Linked DNA regions of Homo sapiens: region 1 is linked to region 2. The links are contacts of gene promoters, found by promoter capture Hi-C in human tissues and cell types (Jung and others, 2019). All regions are on one chromosome and are shown on one strand. Each heading gives the region's core, a stretch centred on a gene start or on the middle of the fragment in contact. The rest is flanking DNA. Distances are from core to core; before and after follow the strand shown.

Region 1 (6,305 bases), core at 1,126-3,625, 630 kb after region 2:
TGAAACCGCCATGGTGGGGAAGGGCCACGTCTGATAGGAGTTCTGAGTGGAGGGCAGGCTTGCATTGCATTTTGCAAGCTAAGAAGGAATTAGGGGAAGAGAAGAAGTTTCCAGAACAATCAAGCTCTGAGACCATTTCCCTAACCTGTGTTACCAGATCACTTGTTGCACCCTTGGCTAGAGGTAAATTCACTGTGAAGTTAGCAGAGTTTAAGCCCCAGGGCCCCTCACCTGCACAAACTCCTTTTAAAGCCCAAGAAGGGTCCTAGTAATGTTGTATTTATAATTCTGCATTCTTTTTCTTAAGGAGAGCCACCTAATTTAGGCCCCTGCATCAATGGACTTGCCAAGACCCTTTTAACGCCCTTCCTCTCGCCCCTTTCAATCTATAGCATATACTTACCAGTCCTATTTGGCTCTGCCTCCTCAAATACTGTTTCTCAGCAGCTCATCCTAGCCCTTCAGCCTTTACTTCCTTAACCTAAACAATCCAGGTTCTGGAGTTTTCCCTACAGGCCCTGTTCTCTACCTCTTTAATCATCTTTACTGCTGTTTTTGTTTTATTTTATTTATTTATTTTATTGAGATGGAGTTTTGCTCTTGTTGCCCAGGCTGGAGTGCAATGGCGCAATCTCAGCTCACTGCAACATCCGCCTCCCAGGTTCAAGCAATTCTCCTGCTTCAGTCTTCCCGAATAGGTGGGATTACAGGCATGCACCACCACGCCAGGCTAATTTTGTAGTTTTAGTAGAGATAGGGTTTCTCCATGTTGGTCAGGATGGTCTCTAACTTCTGACCTCAGGTGATCCGCCCACCTTGGCCTCCCAAAGTGCTAGGATTACAGGCGTGAGCCACCATGCCCTGCCTTTTACTGCTGTTTTTGAAGACTCAAAAAAGTTTTTCCTTAAGTGGTAGTTTCCAGAACGGATGTGTTTTTGTAAATGGCAAGCCTGGTTCCTGACCAAATGGCATTCGAGCAGGGAGGGCCACGTGGGGCCCTCAGAACAGCCTCTCTGCCCATTGTTTCCCTACCTCCCACCCCCAACTTCAGAATGACAAAGTTTCATCTGATGAAAGGAGGGAGTGGCTGGGGAGAAAGTAGAAGGGGCAACAGGAGAGGGGGCAACAGGAGAGAGGGTACCCTTCCACTTCCTTAGAGATGGGACCTCTCTTTTAAGATGCTTTTGGCAGTATTTCAAGCTGCTGATGGGCCCAAGAGGGAAGGAAACTGACATCATTCATACCTACACTGTGCCAGGCACATGGGCTTTCCAGACACTATATCATGGAATCCTTGCTACATCCCTGAAAGAGAGAGACTCCTCATTTTATTTTATTTTATTTATTTATTTTTGAGACAGAGTCTCGGTCTGTTGCCCAGGCTGGAGTGCACTGGCATGATCTCGGCTCACTGCAATCTCTGCCTCCCGGGTTCAATTGATTCTCTTGCCTCAGCCTCCCGAATAGCTGGGATTACAGGCATGAGCCACCATGCCTGGCTAATTTTTTTTTTATTATTTTTTGTAGAGATGGAAGGCTTCACCATGTTGGTCAGGCTGGTCTCGAACTCCTGACCTCAAGTGATGTGCCTGCCTTGGCCTCCCAAAGTGTTGGGATTACAGGCGTGAGCCACCGCACCTGACCAAAACTCCCCATTTTGTAGCTGAGGAAACTGAAGCACAGCCAGCAAGGGCCAGGTCAGGCCCAGCTAACTTAAGAGTCCAGCCTCTAACCCCAGCCCATGTACCCCCATCCTTTATTGATTCTCCCAGGGGCTACTACCTACATTCAAGTCCTAAATGAAAATTGGTGAGCATCACAACAAAAATCCACTTGGAAATAAGTTTAATAAATGAAAAAGTCAGGCAGGCCAAACTCCTGATTCTGGGAGATCTGTATAACAGAAGAAGACTCATCAGTGACCTGGGAGTCCTCCCAGAGTTGGGATTCACTTCTAGAGAGAAAAAAAATATGTATTGACAAGAAGAGGCAGGAGATCTAGGCCCCAAACCAGAAGATGGGGATGAAAGTTAGGCTGGACAGACTATAGGATGGGGATAACAATGAACAATGAAAGTAATGAGAATAGCAACTATTGTTTACTGAGTGCTTACGAGGTGCCAGGCACTGTAATACACACACACACACACACACACACACACACACACACACACACGTTATATAGGTTAGTGCATTTTATCCTCACAGCAACCCCAACTAAATCTTATACACAGAAGCAGTGGTGAAGCAGACCAAAGTCTGTGCTTCTGTGTGTAAGAGTCTTCATCTTCAGGCTCCTCAACCTAAAAATACAAATGATAACCATGCCTTTTTAGTAGGGTTGTTGTGTAACCCTACTAAATGTAACCACTAGGCTTTACTAAGTCTCGGAGAATGGGAGTGGGAGAAATCTAGCCCTGGTAAATGACACAAACAGAGAGAAGCAGGGCTTACAAAGTGCCATAACTTGGGAGGGTGGGGTATAGGGGTGGCTAGGGCTCATCCAGACCCAGATCTTGCAGGCAGCAGAGGTGACTCATGGGAACCTCGGAAGCTAGCAGTTGAGTGCTTTGTACCAAGTTTGCAAACAAAGCTCTTGGGTTCAGAGAGGGTGGAGAGATGCAGAGTCTATCAATATCCATTGGCCTCTCTCCGGATTGGCTCAGGAATCTGAGTGGGAGGAGCTTAGGTCTCAGGGATGATGACGTGAGGCTGGACTAGGAAGCTGCAGCTCGCTGGGCTCCTTCACCTTCAAGGTGCTCCTACCCCAGCGCTGGAGTCACACACTTGTGTTTGGATCCCGCCCTTCCCACCTCTGGGACTTCGACTTAATGATTTAACAACCTTGAGCCCCAGTTTTCTGTAAAGTGGAGAGAATCAGAATATATATAGCCAAATGATAGATAATAATTGTGCCCTTGGGAGAAGTCAGTGAGGCGCTGCATATGAAGGACTAACACAGTGCCTCGGATGCTGCATGCTAGTAAATAGCAGCCAGATTATTGCCAGATTCCTATTCAGGGGAGCCGGAGAAGCTTTTTCTACTTTCCGCTTCCTTCTCCTCCCATTGCCTTCTTTGGTAGGGAAGTGGAATTGTATTCCAGAGGCAGAGTACATGTAATGCCTCTCTCACCTTTCATTCTTTTCACCTCTGAATGATTTTTATTAGTTTTGTAGCTCACAGCCCATTTCACAAAGTTGTAATTTGCCTCTTGCCTGGAGAATATTAAACTGTTACATAAAAGCAATAGTTTTTTTATGCTAGGAATTTTCACTATGCCGATTTTCTATGTCTTTTATAGATAAGACATTGGATCAGCCATGGTTCATTGATTGAAAACATCAGTGACCAATTCTGGTCTTAATAACAACAACAACAAAAATATTTTATTGGAAAGATATGGGATAGCTTACCGAAGGAAAGCTGAACGTCAAGCCTCAGAAAAAGCATACAGGGTAGCTCCAGGGATCTAGGTAGCAGGAAGTTTTGTTTGTTTGTTTGTTTTGTTTTGAAACAGGGTCTCACTCTGTCGCCCAGGCTGGAAGTGCAGTGGTGCAATCACGACTCACTGCAGCCTCAACCTCCTAGGTTCAGGTGGTCCTCCTGCCTCAGCCTCCTGAGTAGCTGGGACCACAGGTGCCACCATGTCTAGCTAATTTTTTTCTTTTGTATTATTTGTAGAGACAGGGTTTCGCTATGTTGCCCAGGCTGGTCTCGAACTCCTAGGCTCAAGCAATCCTCCAGCCTTGGCCTCCAAAAATACTGGGATTAGAGGGGTGAGCCACCATACCCTGCCTCATAATATCTTCTAATTGCTAGTTCATTTTCAAATTTCCTCAATTGATAAAAGAATTTTTTTTTTTTGAGACAGAGTCTCGCTCTGTCGCCCAGGCTAGAGTGCAGTGGCGCAATCTTGGCTCACTGCAACCTCTGCCTCCTGGGTTTAAGCGATTCTCCTGCCTCAGCTGCCTGAGTAGCTGGGATTACAGGCATGCGCCACCACGCCTGGCTAATTTTTGTATTTTTAGTAGAGATAGGGTTTCACCATGTTGGTCAGGCTGGTCTCGAACTCCTGACCTCGTTATCCACCCGCCTCAGCATCCCAAAGTGCTGGGATTACAGGCGTGAACCATCATACCCGGCCTAAGAATGTATTTTGTAGACTTTTTCCCAAATCAAGATTGTATCAAAGTTCACTCATTGCAATTTGTTATTGGGTCTCTTTACTCTCTTTTAGTCTAAATCCCCTCCATTTGTGGATTTTTCATGATATTGACATTTTGAAGAGTTTAGGCTAGCTGTCATGTAAAAAATTTTTACATTTTTTTGGTATAGTATTTTTTATTGTGGTAAAATATGCATAAGATTACAGTTTTAACTATTTTAAAGTGTACAAATCAATGGCATTAAGTACATTTACAATGTTGTACAACCATCACCACTATCAATTTCTGGAACTTTTTTTTTTTTTTTTTGAGATGGAGTCTTGCTCTGTCGCCAGGCTGGAGTGCAGTGGTGTGATCTCGGCTCACTGCAACCTCCACCTCCCGGGTTCAAGCGATTCTCCTGCCTCAGCCTCCTGAGTAGCTGGGACTACAGGCACGCGCCACCACACAGCTAATTTTTGTATTTTTAGTAGAGACAGGGTTTCATCATATTGGCTAGGATGGTCTCAGTCTCTTGACTTCGTGATCTGTCTGCCTCGGCCTCCCAAAATGTTGGGATTACAGATGTGAGCCACCACGCCCGGCCAATTTCTGGAACTTTTTTTTATCATCACGAACTAAAACTCTGTACCACTAAACAATAACCCTCCATTACTCCCTACCTCTAGCTTCTGGGAACCTTTATTGTACCGTCTGTATCTATGAATTTGCCTATTTTAGGTACCTCGTGTAAGTGGAATCATGTAATATATGTCCCTTTGTATTTGGCTTATTTCATTTAGCATAATGAATGTTTTCAAGTTTCAGCCGTGTTGTAGCATGTATCAGACTTTCATTCTCTGCATTGCTTTTTTTTTTTTTTTTTTGAGACAGAGTCTCCATCTGCTGCCCAGGCTGGAGCGCAATGGTGTGATCTTGGCTCACTGCAACCTCCACCTCCCAGGTTCAAGCCATTCTCCTGCCTCAGCCTCCCAAGTAGCTGGGACTACAGGCATGCGCCACCACGCCCAGCTAATTTTTGTATTTTAATAGAGATGGGGTTTCACCGTGTTGGCCAGGCTAGTCTTGAATGCCTGACCTCAAGTGATCCACCTGCCTTGGCCTCCCAAAGTGCTGGGATTACAGGTGTGAGCCACTGCACCCGGCCTGCATTGCTCTTTAAAGTTAATTTATTTGAGTCTTATATTTATTTTCTTATAACTTTTTAAACTTTTTTTTTAACATGAAGGAATGCATTTAGATGTATTCCCAAATTTAAGAAAATCTGTCTAGACTTTTACGCTGGCCAAGCTAATTAGATTTAGATTAGTGAGCTCATAGTGAGTGGGTTAATTTATCACCAGGTTGCAGTAAAATTAACCTTCCAAAACAAACATAGTTTATAGCTTTGAATGAATAACCACCATTTCCTATACTAAACATTCTTTTAAAAATGTAGTTTGCTGTAATAAAAATTAATAGCCTCAGGATTACAAGTAAATACTCCCTGGGATTATTAAAACAAGCATTTCAATAGTATAGAAAAGCTCTTTGTCTTTTTAATTAAAAGACTTAGTCTATTTTTATGATGACATAGTTCAGAATTCTTTTAGATGTATCTTAAATTTTATGGTAACTCTTATGTAGAAATTCACTAACCCTCGGCCTTGTCTTTTTATTTTTTTTTTGAGAAGGAGTCTTGCTCTGTTGCCCAGACTGGAGTCCAGTGGCGCGATCTCGGCTTACTGCAAGCTCCACCTCCCGGGTTCACACCATTCTCCTGCCTCGGCCTCCCGAGTAGCTGGGACTACAGGCGCCTGCCACCACGCCCGGCTAATTTTTTGTATTTTTAGTAGAGACGGGGTTTCACCGTGTTAGCCAGGATGGTCTCGATCTCCTGACCTCGTGATCTGCCCGCCTCGGCCTCCCAAAGTGCTGGGATTACAGGCATGAGCCACCGTGCCCGGCCTTACCCTCAGCCTTGTCTTTCTAAACAAAGCAGGCTGGATAATTTAGTGCTTGGCATTCTCTAAAGCACTTAGGTGAATAGCATCTCAAGTTTCTTGATAAAGATCAGGACTTTGAGGTTTATTATAATTTTTTTCTACATCTCTATACTCATGAAAGCTTCATAGTATAGATTTTTTGTTGTAGTTATT
Region 2 (5,676 bases), core at 2,001-4,500:
AACCTATTAATAGTTCATTCCTCTACTTCCTTCCCTACTTTTCCTGATTAACTGGTTGTGTTTTGTGAAAACTTTTTTCCAATCACTTGCTCAAGTGGTTTCTATACTTTCAGTGTTGAAAATTTTACACAGGGATTCTACAAGTTTTATGTGATAATCAGATCCATATATGGGCATGCAGTTATTCAGGACTACCAACTATGTTTCATACAGCATACGTTCAGAACTTATAAATTTCTTGACCTTTCAGGGCATTTTGGAAGATATATTGCCAGTTTTCCTTTTGGCCTATTAATCTGGGGAGTTAAATTAGTTACAACAGTGTAACTGTCTTTGGAATCAGAGATAATAATACAAAAGAACTGCTGAATCAAACAAGTTTCTACATGCACAGGTCATATTAGTATTTGAATCTACATGCAACTTTAAAAGACTATGCCACAAAAACCTCCAACGTTATTGATCTTCATTTGTGCTAAACAGTATTTTAACTTTCACTCCATTTTATAAATCCTACACCTCCCTTCGGTGAGAAATAAAGTATTCTCCACAGATGTAGGTGCAGCTCAACTCAAAAATTTCCTGACTCAGCCGGGCATGGTGGCTCACACCTGTAATCCCAACACTTCTGAGAGGTCGAGGAGGGCGGACCTCTTGAGCTCAGGAATTCAAGACCAGATTGGGCAACATAGTGAAACCCCCATCTCTACAAAAAAATTAAAAAAATTAGCCGGGCATGGTGGTCCCAGCTACTTGGGAGGCTGAGGCGGGCAAAATCACCTGGTAGGCAGAGGTTGCAGTGAGCCGAGATTGCACCACTGCACTCCAGCCTGGGTGACAAGAGTTGACACTACGTCTCAAAAAAAAAAAAAAAAAAATTTCCTAACTCCGAAATAGTTCTGATAATCTAAGAACCCATAAACTAGAGAAAAGAAAGACAGCCAGTCCTGCAGCACTGAATGAAGTTCAGGTGACTATTTTTTAGAGACCAGATCTTGTTCTGTCACCAAGGCTGGAGCGCAGTGGCTTTTCACAGGTATGATCGTAGATAGCTCACTGCAGCTTCAAACTTCTGGGCTCAAGAGATCTTCCCGCCTTCAGGTGATTTTACATTAGAACTTTCCCTATCATATGAATCCAAAGTTCTCTGGGGTGAAAATTCAGAATATTTAACACTGTAAGAATCCCTAAATTCTGCACTGCTACATTCTTGGTAAGGAAGAAGACAATTATTCATGCACATGTTACTGCCAGTAGAGTGTTATCAGTATTACGTTCTCAATACAGTATGGTTGCTGATATTACAGAGATGGGAATCTCAACGGCCTAGGACATTTGCAGTTAACTGTTTTATAATACATTAATAGGTATTAAGGAGGTGAACCCTCAGAACATGGGATTTCCTGATAGAGGGCAGAGAAAAAATACAGGTATTAAGAAAGTGAATCCTCGGCTAGGCGTGGTGGCTCACGCCTGTAATCCCAGCACTTTGGGAGGCCAAGGCGGGTGAATCACCTGAGGAGTTCAAGACCAGCCCGGCCAACATGAAACCCCGTCTCTACTAAAAAAATAGAAAAACTAGCTGTGTGCGGTGGTGCACACGTGTAATCCCACCTACTCGGGAGGCTGAGACAGGAGATTCGCTTGAACCCGAGAGGCGGAAGTTGGAGCGAGCCGAAATTGCGCCACTACACCCCAGCCTGGGCGTCAGAGCGAGACTCAGTCTCAAAAAAACAGAAAACAGAAAAAAGAAAAAAAAATGAATCCTCAGAAAATGGGATTTATTGGTAGAAGGCGGAGAAAGAATATACCACACCCTTCGATTAGATATGTAAATAGTTAACTACTCACGGGCCTTGCCTGTGGACTCAAGTAAGGTTCAAAATCATCATCGTTTAATCCATCCTTTTGATGTACAGATCCATTTTGTACTAAAGAAAAAAAAATTCAATTAGGAGTGTCCCAATCCTACAATCTTCCTTTCAAATTAGTTCATATATGCTAACCAGAGAAAAACCTTACTAGTTAACAAAGCACGTAAGATTGAACTTCAAAAGGGTAAGAGATGACAGTGAATGCTGAAGCGACAGTCGCCAGTGAAAATGTCCCCCTCCACCCAGAGCAAGTTGATCTAAAAAGGTCATTTTATTGGCTCCTCTGGATTTCCATTCCCTCCCGCTTCCCCTCCCCCATCACATGAGAGTACTTCCAGAGAGTGATCCACGAGGATGAAAAACAAAGGCCTTCTAAGACCTACAGGAAACTAAGGACCTGGAGCGTTTCAAAACCCAATCCACCCCCACCCTTAATGAATTACTCCTTGTTAGCGAAAAAGCTGTTCGCCAGCTGCAAGAACACACCGAAAGGGTCAAAATACTTAAGTGTGCGGCACCTGCGAACTAAGCGGCTTCCGAAAGGTCCTCCGCCCGGGGCGCTTCCCGGAGACCCCGCCCCCACCGCCCCGCGTCCCCCTCCCGGCTCAGGGCCACCGGCGGAGCGGGACTTACCTTTGTTTCCTTGACCTTTTGGTCTCTGCAGGGGAAGGAAACGTCGCCGAGCAGCAAGTTGTCCAAAGGAGAAATGGAAAAGGAAGAACAAATTAAGGCAGGGCCCGAAGGGAGAATAAAGGAGCAGGCCCGAGGGGAGGCGTCAGGAATGGTAGTGAGGAAGAGGCTGAAAATGGGAGGCGGGGGAAAGCGCCAGGCCCGTGGGGCAGGGGAGAAAACGCGGCAGACGCGCCACCGGCGACGCGAGGAACCCAGGGCTTTAAGGAAGGGGAAGGAAACAAGGAAGGAAAACGAGGCCCGCCGAGAGAAGGGAACGCGGCGCGGCCCGGCCCGTGGGCTCCGAGGCCCGAGGAGAAGCGGGAAGAACAGGCTGAGGGAGAGGCGCCGGGCGCGGCCGGCCTGAGAGGCCCGAAACCTGGCCCGCAAGAGACGACGCCTCGGCTCGGCTCGGCCTGCCCAGGAGCGGCGGGCCCGGGCCTAGTCGGGCTCCTTCTCGCCTCACACAATGGCCGAGGCATGCGGGCCGGGCCTGTACCTGCTCCAAGAGGCTGCTGGCCGACATGGCTCTCAGATCCTCACGGGCGGCGACGGCGGCGAACTCTCCTCAGCGCGGCGGCGGCGGCAGATGAGCCCCGTCTGCGGGAGCAGGCGGAGGCTTTTGTCCCTGACACTCGGGGGCCTCGGCGGACGCAGCGGAGACACAGCGCGCGGCTCAGGCTCCGGCTCCGACTCGGCGACGCTCTAGCCCAAGAGCTCAATGCCCGTCTCTATGCTTTTACGCGCGCGCCCGCCCCCCACCGCCTAAAGCAGAGCGCCGAACAGCGGAGGCGGGCGGCGCGCGCGGCGCGAGCGCTGACTCTCACATTCACTCACCCACGCGGAAGGGGCCCGGCGCGAAGAACCCCGGGAAGGGAGAGGCCGGCCGCTGCGCCCTCTGGCGGATTGGAGGAGCGGAAGCCGTGCTCACGGCCTCCCCGCCCCCACCGCCCCAGGATTAAGGCCTAGGGGGTTTGGGACGACCAGGGTCGCACCACGAGGTTTCGACTAACACCTGGAAAGACTAGCTCTGGCTTCAGAAGAACGACAAAAGCCGGTTTCTCAGTGAGGGAGGGGCCTCCGAAGCCCGCGAGACCTTAAAATGAACCTGCCTTCCAGCTGCAAGTGATACCCCACCCCCATCTGGGAGGTAACCCGACCCCTAGGGAGTCACACAGTCCCCAGGGAAACTTCATGGGGGCCCTGTCCGGGAGTGACCCGCCCCCGCCCCCGCGAGGGGCTTGGTCATCCTCTGTTAGCCGACTACAGAAAGAGTACCCAGAGAGCAAAACACACACCGAAAGAATCCAGTCTCCCGCAAAAGAGATTCACCCCTTAGCATTGCAGGAAGGAGAATCTACAATTTATTTTCGGGGAAATCGCTGGCCCCAAGATAATCTGTTAAATTGTGGACTTTATTTCCAAGAAAAATACACCTCATGCATCTACACAAAACTTTCAAGGAGTCCGGAGAACCTATGAATCTTAAGGACCTCAAGAGGGAAGCAAGGAAATTAACATTATTGAAATACCAGCTGTGGGCCAGGCTTTGTTGTTAGGTATTTTCAAACACATTAAAGTCTTTCGACAACTTCAAAATCGCTATCAGTCTTTCGGTTTTTTACGACTGGAAAAACAGAAAGCTTAAGTAATGTGCCCAAGTTTACAAAACTATTAAATAGCCAGGTGTATCTGACACTAACATAATGGTATCTCTCTACCCCTACGAGACTCTGTATTAGGGAACCAGAATATAGGGGAGATGCAAAGGATGGGCAAAAGTATTTTCAATCAGAAGCAAAGCCAACTCATGCAGGAATATTTGATACTAGGAAAGCCCATCTAATAGCTTTTGTTATTGCAAGTACGTCGTGGTAAACAGGTAACTAATGCACTAATTGTCAACCTCGTACTATCCACACGCTGGATATAGGAGGCTTGGGTGGACTCGGTAAAATAAATAACATGGCATCTTGGATTTAACATCATAATTTGGTCAAAGTGCTCAAAGCACTTTTTTTCTCTGCCCATAATCACATTTATGGTAGGAATGAGTAAGGTCAGGCACCAAAGGTGAAGGACTTTTAATGGAGACAGTAAAATGTCAAGTCTGGGAGCATAGATTCCATCAAGGGAATAGAATAAACCTAGTAATACTTCTTTTTAAAGATACTCGGCTACGGCGGGCGCGGTGGCTCATGTTTGTAATCCCAGCACTTTGGGAGGCCAAGGCGGGCCGGATCATGAGGTCAGAAGATCGAGACCATCCTGGCCAACATGGTGAAATCTCGACTCTACTAAAAATACAAAAATTAGCTGGGCATGGTGCCATGCACCTGTAGTCCCAGCTAATCGGAGGCTGAGGCAGGAGAATCGCTTGAACCCGGGAGGCAGAGGTTGCAGTGAGCCGAGATCACGCCATTACACTCCAGCCTGGGCAACAGAGCGAGACTCGTCTCAAAATAAATAAATAAATAAATAACAAATAATAATAATCAGCCACTTAGCTCCATGGCCCAGATTTATGTATAAACTGTAAGCGGTTGCCTATACTTACCCTTGGAGGCAACATGGCATTGTAAAAACAGCATTAGACGAGAAGTCATATGCTGGGAGACAAAGGGTCTAAATAATGGTTTCCCCACCCAGATGTGCAATACTGGGTAAACAACTAAAACCTTTCTTAGATTCCCTCATTTGATAAAGGGGATGATGGATAATGATACCTACCCAACAGGTTTGTCGTGAAGATAAACTTTAAAAAAAAAAAAAAAAGCCGGGTGCGGTGGCTCACGCCTGTAATCCCAGTATTTTGGGAGGCCGAGGAGGGCAGATCACCCGAGGTCAGGAATTCAAGACTAGCCTGCCCAACACGGTGAAACCACGTCGGTACTAAAAATACAAAAATTAGCTTGAGCGTGGTGGTGGGCCCCTGGAATCCCAGCTACTCGGGAGGCTGAGGCAGGAGAATCACTTGACCACAGGAGGCGGAGCTTGCAGTGAGCCGAGATCGCGCAATTGTACTCCAGCCTGGGTGATAAAGCGAGACTCTGTCTCAAAAAAGTAAATAAAATAAGTAAAATTAAAATTTTTTTAAAAGCTGACATTAAAGCATGTGTGGCACAGTGTAAGT

What was found. The method cuts DNA at HindIII sites, captures the fragments that hold promoters and counts their contacts. A contact is called where the count stands out against the background at its distance.
Region 1: a contact is called between a fragment that was not itself captured here and the fragment with the promoter of YTHDF2 in region 2, in 1 of the 25 tissues and cell types used here (hippocampus).

The regions. Positions count from the first base shown.
Region 1 is chr1:28,101,635-28,107,939 of GRCh38, reverse strand. No RefSeq gene overlaps it. Among named protein-coding and RNA genes, the nearest start is that of EYA3, 16 kb to the right of the region's middle. The HindIII fragment of the contact is 4,559 bases long and covers 96-4,654 here.
Region 2 is chr1:28,734,514-28,740,189 of GRCh38, reverse strand. YTHDF2 (YTH N6-methyladenosine RNA binding protein F2) reads right to left here and starts at 3,250. Exons shown (of 5, transcript NM_016258.3): 1 at 3,043-3,250; 2 at 2,508-2,532; 3 at 1,852-1,931. The coding sequence starts at 3,069. RefSeq lists enhancers at 2,644-2,753, 2,636-3,534, 3,854-3,903, 4,434-5,333. The HindIII fragment of the contact is 10,776 bases long and covers 1-5,676 here.